Linked DNA regions of Homo sapiens: regions 1 and 3 are each linked to region 2. Evidence: promoter capture Hi-C in human tissues and cell types (Jung and others, 2019). All regions are on one chromosome and are shown on one strand. The core of a region is centred on a gene start or on the middle of the fragment in contact, and the rest is flanking DNA. Distances in the headings are between cores, read along the strand shown. Region 1 overlaps LINC00673 (long intergenic non-protein coding RNA 673). Region 2 holds the start of CPSF4L (cleavage and polyadenylation specific factor 4 like). Region 3 has its middle 130 kb from the start of LINC00469.

The links. Contacts are between HindIII fragments. The study calls those that stand out against the background at their distance.
Region 1: a fragment that was not itself captured here is called in contact with the fragment with the promoter of CPSF4L in region 2 in 1 of the 25 tissues and cell types used here (dorsolateral prefrontal cortex).
Region 3: a contact is called between a fragment that was not itself captured here and the fragment with the promoter of CPSF4L in region 2, in 1 of the 25 tissues and cell types used here (hippocampus).

What each region holds. Positions count from the first base shown.
Region 1 is chr17:72,539,314-72,542,327 of GRCh38, forward strand. The region is part of intron 1 of LINC00673 (long intergenic non-protein coding RNA 673); the gene reads right to left. Among named protein-coding and RNA genes, the nearest start is that of LINC00673, 52 kb to the right of the region's middle. RefSeq lists a silencer at 1,040-1,289. The HindIII fragment of the contact is 3,812 bases long and covers 1-3,014 here.
Region 2 is chr17:73,260,315-73,263,304 of GRCh38, forward strand. It overlaps CPSF4L (cleavage and polyadenylation specific factor 4 like), which reads right to left and starts at 1,566. Exons shown (of 6, transcript NM_001129885.1): 1 at 1,402-1,566; 2 at 619-669. The coding sequence starts at 1,504. The HindIII fragment of the contact is 16,084 bases long and covers 1-2,990 here.
Region 3 is chr17:73,953,472-73,956,637 of GRCh38, forward strand. No RefSeq gene overlaps it. Among named protein-coding and RNA genes, the nearest start is that of LINC00469, 130 kb to the left of the region's middle. The HindIII fragment of the contact is 4,278 bases long and covers 1-3,166 here.

The sequences.
Region 1 (3,014 bases), core at 101-2,600, 720 kb before region 2:
TGCCTAGGGGTTCTGGGAGGGGCGCTCAAAGCTCAGAGGCCTGAATTCAGCACCCTGCTCAGGCTCTTTGAGAACCGCTGACTTGAAGTGGGCCTGCTCGCTTTGCTAAACAAATATGGGTAACTCTGGTCTTCCAAAAAGAGCTCACAATTCTGTCCTCCCTGGAAGCTACAATTCAATCATCCTCTTCCAAACGTCCAAATCCCAGCTTCAGTGAGGCTATCTCACACAGCAACCTGCCTGGGAGTGACCTGCATGCAAAACTTCAAGAGTTTGAGGGAAACTTGAGGGAAACTTGCAGAAACCAGCTTGCCAAGGAAAAACGCTCCCAGTGCGTTCAATGAAAAAGCAGGCGACCCAGCTAAATGAGTAAACTGACCCAATCGGGGGGATGAAAGGGAACGTATATCTATGCAATGACAATAAATCGTGGAAAGACATATTAAAATACAAAAGCCATTTCTAGACGCAAAATCATGGATGTGTTTTATTTGCTTCTTTGTGTTTTCTGGTATTTTTACAAAACTGCACTGCAGAATGTTTGGAATCAGATGAAAAGTTCATTTCTGAGAAGCCTCCTTCTTTTCTCTTTTAAATTTTCTTCTTTTGCATTCCATTTTGGCCAGCTCGCTTGAACTCTGCGTTCAAACGCCTTTCTCTCCCAAGCAAAAGCTCCAGGAGGAATCTTCTGGAGCAAAGTTAGAACCGCAGGGAAGCTTGAAAAGAGGAAACAGACCAGCCTGGCCGGTGGAGGTTAAATTAAACTACAGTTCTCTAGCAGGCCTCGGGCTTGGTCAGGAGCTATTGGTAAGACGGCAGAAACGGAGTACAGGCCAATAAACAAATCAAAACAAAAACAAGAAGCAAAGAAAGAAAGAAACATGTTTTAAGAAGAATAAAGTCATTAGGTGGCAAGGGGCCTCTGCAGGACCATCCAGGCCAGGGAGAAAAACACCACCAAGGACCCAAACTTCTTTCACTGGGGAGCTGCAAGCAGGAGGCGCTGGCTCTGAGCAGTGGCTTTGTGCTTCGGGCAGAACCGGCCGCGAGGGCTGCGCCCCACCAGCCGCGCGCCGGGAGGGCGGACGCGCCGGGCACAGCCAGGCGCCGGGGGTGACCGCGGCAGCACCGGCCCGGCGGCTGGAAGCAGACGCGCCGCTCCGCCCGCGCCCGCGCCCGGTGGAGCCACAGCGCCATCAAGTGGCCACTCGGCGAACGGCCGCACGGGGAAGCGGCTCAGGCCCAGGGAAGAGGTCCAGGGTTCCCAGCCGCAACTGTCCCTGGGGAAGGGTCTGGACCTGCCAAGCTGCCACTCCAGGGCCTGAGGCAGGAGCCTGCAGACGGACACCAGCTGTCCAGGCGCACTCCACCACCCAGGGCTGCCCCAGAGGATGTTCGGGAATCCTGTCTCCTCCTTCGGGAGAGAGGTTACTTTTGCAGTCCCAGGCCCATTCTCTTCTCCAGCAACTTGCTCACAGTTTAAAAGGTTTGGTTCTCAGAGAGTGGCGCCAGAGCAAAGGGGGCATCTCGCTGCTCTGGGGCATCCTGCAGGGGATGGCGCAGATCTGGGGTCCATGTCTGTGAGCGGACACCATTGGAACATGTGTCTAGAGAATCTGGGCGGGATCACTGCCCACAGCCCTTCAAGGCCCACAAACCTACAACACATCTCTCCTGGAAACAGCACGTGATCCCATATGCCCCCTGGTCTTTGGGTACAAATTATGGGGTGACTCAAGAAGAGAGCACGTGATATGGTTTGGCTGTTTGTTCCCTCCAAATCTCATACTGAAATGTGATCTCCGGTGTTGGAGGTGGGCCTAGTGGGAGGTGTTCGGATCATGGGGGTGGATTCCTCATGAATGGTTTGGTGCTATCTTCACAGTAACGAGTGAGTTCTCACTAGAACAGTTCATGTGAGCTTGGCATGGTGGCTCACACCTGTAATCCCAGTACTTTGGGAGGCCACGTCAGGTGGATCCCTGGAGGTCAGAAGTTCGAAACCAGCCTGGCCAACATGGTGAAACCCCATCTCTATTAAAAATACAAAAAAATTAGTTGGGCGCGGTGGCACGCACCTGTAGTCCCAGCTACTCGAGAGGCTTGAGGCAGGAGAACTGGTTGAACTTGGGAGATAGAGGTTGCAGTGAGCCAAGACTGTGCCGCTGCACTCTAGCCTGGGTGACAGAGCAAGACTCCATCTCAAAAAAAAAAAAAAAAAAAGAAAGAAAGAAAAGAGTTCATGTGAGATGTGATTGTTTAAAAGGGCCTGGTACCTTCCCCCATCTCTTGCTTTCCCTCTTGCCATGTAACATGCTGGTTCCCGTTTACCTTCTGCCATGATTGGAAGCTTCCTGGGGCCTCACCGGAAGCCAAGCAGATGCCAGGGCCATGCTTCCTGTACAGCCTGCTGAACCCTGAGCCAAATAAACCTCTTTTCATTACAAACTACCTAGGCTCAGATAGTCCTTTATAGCAATGCAAATGGACTAACACACCCCATGATCTCCATCCACAAACCACTGGAGGAACCCAACACAGCAACGGAAAAGTTCTCAGAGCACCAATCAGGAATATGCATATTAATATGAACACTATAACAGGAAATTACAGGAAAAGCATAGAGCGTTTGCTCTGTGCAAAGCACTGTGCGAATTCCTTCTGTACTTTATCTTCTTTAACCTTTACCACGACCTTAGGACATGAGTTTTTTATGATGTTTGTTTGTTTGTTTGTTTGTTTTTTACAGAAAAGGAAATGGAAGCACCCAGAGGTCCAAAAACTCACTCAAGGTTGCCTGGCCTGGAGTCAGAGCCTGAGAGCCAGCTCCTTCACTTACACTCCTTGATCCCATCTTTCCATCCATCCCCCAACCCCCAGCCGTAGGTGGATCCAGGTTTTGTGAGACCTGAAACATACATGTTTTCTAGAGGGAGAGGCAGCCTCTTTAAGATATGAAGTTGTAAATACACAGTTGAGGCCAGTCAGGGAGGGCTGTGTAGGGGAGGGGCTCT
Region 2 (2,990 bases), core at 316-2,815:
AAGGCAGAAAGAAAAAAATACCCCTTTCCAGGCAGCCTGGTTACCCTGATGCGAACTGCAAACTATGAAGACTGCTGCTGAGGCGGGAAAATCTTAGGGGAGGGGCAGGCTGCTCGGTGGATCCAACCACTTATCCTTTGTCTACCTGTAAGTCTAAAATTCTGCTCCATGGCCGGGCATGGTGGCTCACGCCTGTAATCCCAGCACTTTGGGAGGCCCAGGCAGGTGGATCACCTGAGGTGAGGAGTTTGAGACCCGCCTGGCCAACATGACAAAACTCCATCTCTACTAAAAATGCAAAAATTAGCCGGGCTTGGTGGCATGCACCTGTAGTTCCAGTTACTCGGGAGGCTGAGGAAGGAGAATCGCTTGAACCCAGGAGGCAGAGGTTGCAGTGAGTTGAGATCACGCCAGATCACTCTAGCCTGGGCAACAGAGCGAGATTCCATCTAAAAATAAATAAATAAAATAAAAATAAAATTCCGTTCCATCCCAATTTTCCCTCCCCAGGTGCAAATTCGACACCCTATCCCAGGCCAGGCAGAGCCCCTGCTGGGTGTAGCTCAGACAGACCCTACACTCACCCAGCTTGGGGCCCAGGCCTGTCTGCTAACTCACCTTTCTCACAGAGCCCTTTAGTGAAGAAGTTGCACACAGCTGAGGCCGACTCTGGAAGGAGAAGAGGGAACGGAGAAGGTAGCTTCCCCAGAGGCTGCAGCTGTTCCGGAAGCCTCCACCTCCATCGGCATGTCCCACCTAGACCTCCCCCAGGCTCTGGCCTATGGGATCCCAAATCTGGGCCCTGTAGAGGTTAACCTGCAGAGCCAGCCAGCAGACCTCAACCCTTAACCCCCCAACTCTGAAACAGAGGAGCTCGAGGGGCTCAAGCCTGGCCCAGGAGCTCGGGAGGCCAGTGTGGCTTCTCTCAATTCACCGTCTCTCTGTGCCTCTCTTTCTCAGTCTGGAAAATGGGTTGCCCCGAAGCCACAGAAGAGAGAGACAGAGAAGGGGCGGTCGCATCAGGGAGTTGAGCAGAGAGGCCTGTAGAGAAGGAAGGGGGAGGGAGGCTGGGCGTGGTGGCTCATGCCTGTAATCCCAGCACTTTGGGAGGCCAAGGCGGGCGGATCACGAGGTCAGGAGATTGAGACCATCCTGGCTAACATGGTGAAACCCGGTCTCTACTAAAAATACAAAAAATCAGCTGGGCGTGGTGGCGGGCGCCTGTAGTCCCAGCTCCTCGGGAGGCTGAGGCAGGAGAATGGCGTGAACCCAGGAGGCAGAGCTTGCAATGAGCCGAGATTGTGCCACTACACTCCAGCCTGGGCTACAGAGCGAGACTCCGTCTCAAAGAAAAAAAAACAGAGAAGGTAGGGGAGGGAAAGTGGCCCCACCCTCACTCACTGTCCATGCCCTGGAAAGGCAGGAGCCCAGTGCCCTTCTGCATCTCGACATCCTTCTCGAAGGCAAAGGTGAACCGCTCTAGCCCCGCAATGACCTCTTGCATCTTCCGTCTCCTGCTGGGGCTGCGGAAGCTGCTGGAACCCAGGCAGGTGGGCCCAATATAGCTCATCAGAGGCCCTTAAGGGGCCAGCGCCCAATGCCTCCCCCTTCACCCCAGGGTGCCAGTGGCCAGGTGACTGCAGGGGACGCTCCAGCCTGGGCTGTACAGGAGCAGGGCCCAGCTGCCTCACCCGGCCCACCCAGTGCAGGGGCAGACACCCCAGGGCCCCTCACCCCCACACTGTGTACACAAGGCTCACTCGGATAGGGAGGGATTCGCAGAGCCCCACAAACTGCTTATCTTTGCATGTTACCGAACACAAACGTGGCGTGCACACAGACATTACCAAACCTGGGCTCATACTTTGTCCATGAAGACACAGCCACAGGTTAGCAAAGAGTTGCACAAACCAACCGCAGCAAGGCTGTTATTCTGCCAGAGCTGGGGGTGGTGGGGGTTTGCAGAGGGAGGGAGCCGTCCCACCTCCCCGCTTCTTCCCATGAGGGAAGGGGTCTCCCTCTGGGGCCCCTGACACCCCTTTTCTGGCCTGAGTGACAAGCCCCGAGTGAGCTCTTCGTGGGAGACAGGGAAAAAGGAATGAAGAGGAGAGGAACTGAAACAGTTGGATGAATGGCGCTTTGTTTACCTCGCACACAATCGCCAGCTTGGCGGGAGGGCGGAACCGACCAAGGCCAGGGCGGCCTCCCAGCCAGGATTCCACAGGGCCACCCAGTGCCACCCCACCCCTGAGAAAGTGCTTTATAAATGAAATCTCTATGCAAATGTTGTTTTATTATTATTACACCACCCCTGCCTGCAGGGCTGGGGACATCTGACAATGCTTTCAAAGGAGCATGTTAGGGCTCTAATTAGACCAGGTTCCCCCTCCCCCTGCTCTGGCCCCAAACTGGCCTTGCCTCTAACTAGAGCTGCTGTTCTCAGTCACATTGGCTTTTAATGCCCATAGAACCAGAACCCATACGCCCTCCTTTCTGGGTGCCCAAACCCAGCAGGGAGAGGTGGGCAGCCCCGCAGGCTCTCAGCTGGGCCAACATGAACTAGCCTGCTGGCTGTTGTTCCCCGTGGCTGTTGCTCCTAGATCTGTTCTTTTGAACTCCAGATCAGAAAAGAAAATAGCTGGAGAGATAGACACCTGGAGCCGAGGTGGGACTGGGAGGAGCAGGGACGAGATCCAAGAGTTTCCAGAAGCTCAGGCCTCTGACTGCATCCTGGGAGAGGCAGAGGGACCCAGCTCCAGGGCTAGAGGGTGGGGCCAAGGGGGTCCCTGGGGTAGAAACCCTGGCTTCTCTTGGCCTTAGTTGTATGCGTTGATTAGTAGTCCCAAGAATGCATTCATCTGTCAACACAGGCTCATTAAAGGCTCACAGAAGCCTGGCAGCGCAGGCAGGACTGATGAGGGAATCAAAGCCCAGGGAGGCCAAGACCACATGGTTTGGGAGGCGCTATGGATGGGGTTCACATCTAGGTC
Region 3 (3,166 bases), core at 225-2,724, 690 kb after region 2:
CCCCCCACACCCTCACGTATTTACACCCTCACACACACATTCCCACATGCCCATGCCCACACACTCACATTCACACACCCTAACACACAATCACAGACACACACACACAAACACACAATCACATATACACATACACACAGACACACACAGAATCATAAACATACACACAGAGACACACAGAATCACATATACACACACATACACACACAGAATCACATATACACAGACACACAATCACATATACACGGAATCACATATACACACAGACACACAATCACATATACACAGAGATACACAATCACAGAGACACATAATCACATATGCACGCAGAATCACATATACACACACAGACACACACAGAATCACATATACACACACAATCACATACACACAGACACAATCATACACACGCAGAGACACACAGAATCACATACACATATACACAGAGACACACACATATACACATACAGAACACACAGAATCACATATATACATACAGACACACAGAATCACATACACACAGAGACACACAGAATCACATAAACACAGACACACACAATCACATATACACACACACAGAATCACATATACATATACACACAGAGACGCACAGGCACACATTCATGCACACATTCACACAGATTCATTCACACACAGACACACCCCCTCACACAAGATCACACCACACGCATGCTCATTCACACACAACACCAACACCCACATTCATTCACAGACTCACAAAACTTACACACATATACGCACACACCATTCACACACTCATGCAAGATACCTTACAAATACACAGACACACGCAGACACAAATACACACATAGACCCCTCACAGATGCACACACCAATGCACACAGGTACACTCATTTGCACACCACACACCCACTTACACACCAATACACATACTGGCACACTCATACACAGACCTATAAACACACAGACCCACCCATACTCAGACATACTCATTTGCATACCCACTCAGCAACACAGACTCACATTCACATACATGACAGAGACAAACTCACACAGGCACACTCACATTCACACAGGCACATTCACACACACCCTATTATGCACATTCTCACAACAGACATGCTTACACACATTCACACAGTCACACACACACACACACACACACACAATCTCGTACTGAAGCCCAGGCAGTGTCTACCAGCTACACAGACATTGTGGACAGTGGAGTGGTGAGAGGTACAGGCGTATTCAGGTCAGGCAGGTGGGATCTGAGCAGAGGCATCATGAGCCCAAGGGCACCTTGGTGGCAAGGACATCACCTATTGTTTCTCTGCATCTTCCCCCTCCCCGCCCAAATCATGCAGCACAGTGCAGGGCACACAGGTTCATCATAAGTGTTTCTTCAATGAGCAGACAGGAGCTACCCAAGCTTCAATGTACGTAAGAATGCATAGTGGCCGCCATTTTACAGGTTGAACTTGGAGCTTCAAAGCAGCCTTGGATAAAACCACTGGGCCATTCTCCAAAAAAGAGAATGGAGAATGTCAACGTCCTTAATTGTCTGCCTGTATTCCATGTACTTCCTGACTTAGAGCCTTGATTGACAAAATCCCCGTTCCAAGAAAATCTCCCTGCATCACCGCAGGCACTGTGTGTTTGGCAAGTAGACTTTCAACTTTGGGTTGTGGCATGAATAAATAAATGACTAAATCAGCAAGCAGTTTTCCCTGCACCTTGGCACAGGTCTGGGTACAATCAAGGCATCAGTCAAGATGGGAGGGTAGTGGGTGGGTGTGGCCTTTAAAAGATGGGAGTTCTGCCTCAGCTCACTACTTAGCCCGGCACAGTGGCTCATGCCTGTAATCCGAGCACTTTGGGAGGCTGAGGTGGGAGAATAATTGAGCCCCTCCAGTCAAGGTTGCAGTGAGCCATGATAGAACAAGATGTTGTCAAAAAAAAAAAAAAAAAAAAAAAGAAAGGAAGAAAAGAAGAAAAGACAGAAAAGAAGGAAGGGACGGGAAGGGGAGGGGAGATCCGAAAAGCAAAAACTAAAAACCTCACTTCTAAGGCACTTTCTGGAATCGTTCCACTCCACTCGGATCTCCCTCTTTATTGGGCATCGTTTTGGTGAGTAATGAATTCAACCTGAGCCCCATTCCTGTGGGAGGTTAGCCATTTCACTTTCCTAGATGTGTGAGTATGTGTGAACCTATCGCCATCACCTCTTCTCCCATTAGTCTGTAATTCCCCCTGAGCAGATCGGGCTGTTTCCATTGAGATTTCTTTGGCAATGATGACACAACTCTGCCAGCAGCAAGTGTCCAGCCAGACACCTGGGTCACCCCCTAGTTGGACGGTGCTGGGGGAAGCTCTGGCATGGGCAGCTCCACCTCGGATGCTTCCTGGAGTAGATGTTCTGGCTGGTGTCCATGGAGATGGAATGGGAGAGGGACTTCCTTAGCCACAGCCACGCATGTCTTCCCCTTTATGGGAAAGTATCTGAGTGCTGGTCATTTTCAGACCCTAGGGAAGTATCTAATTGCCCTCCTGGAGAGCCCCTACTTATAGAGAAGATGGCAAGGCTGTCAGAGAATCCAATGCCACATTTCCCAAAAAAAGGAGGAAAGGCGGGCCCCAAGAGGGCCCTCAGCAGGTACAGAATTGGAACTGCCAGACAGACACGCCTTTTCCCATGCTACAACCTTGGCTGCCATGCCCCTACTCCCCTTACTCCTGCTTCTAGAAGAAAAGGAAGGGAGAAAAATGCAGGAATTTTCCAGAAAGATCCAGAAACTCCCCCAAATTGCCAGAAGTCTCCAGGCTTGTATATTAATGCAGTGGTGCAGTGCAGTAATTTACTCTAACTACCTGGGTGTGCCCTTGATTCTGGCTAGATTAGATTGAATCAACAAAGAAGCAGCACAGAGTCCTCCAGTGCTGGAGCTGAGAAACCCCAGAGAATGCAAGGAGGCTTCATTTCCTGATTTTCTCATCTGTACAATGGGGTGGTAATAGCACCCACATCACAGATTGCTGTGAGGACTCAGTGACTCAGACCATATAAAACGCTTGGCATGGTACCTTCCACATAGCAAGTGCTGCATAAAGGCTGATGATGATGAGGCCGATGATGAAGGCAAAGAAACTACTCCTTGCCCAAGGTCATCTGGGCGACTTAGTGACA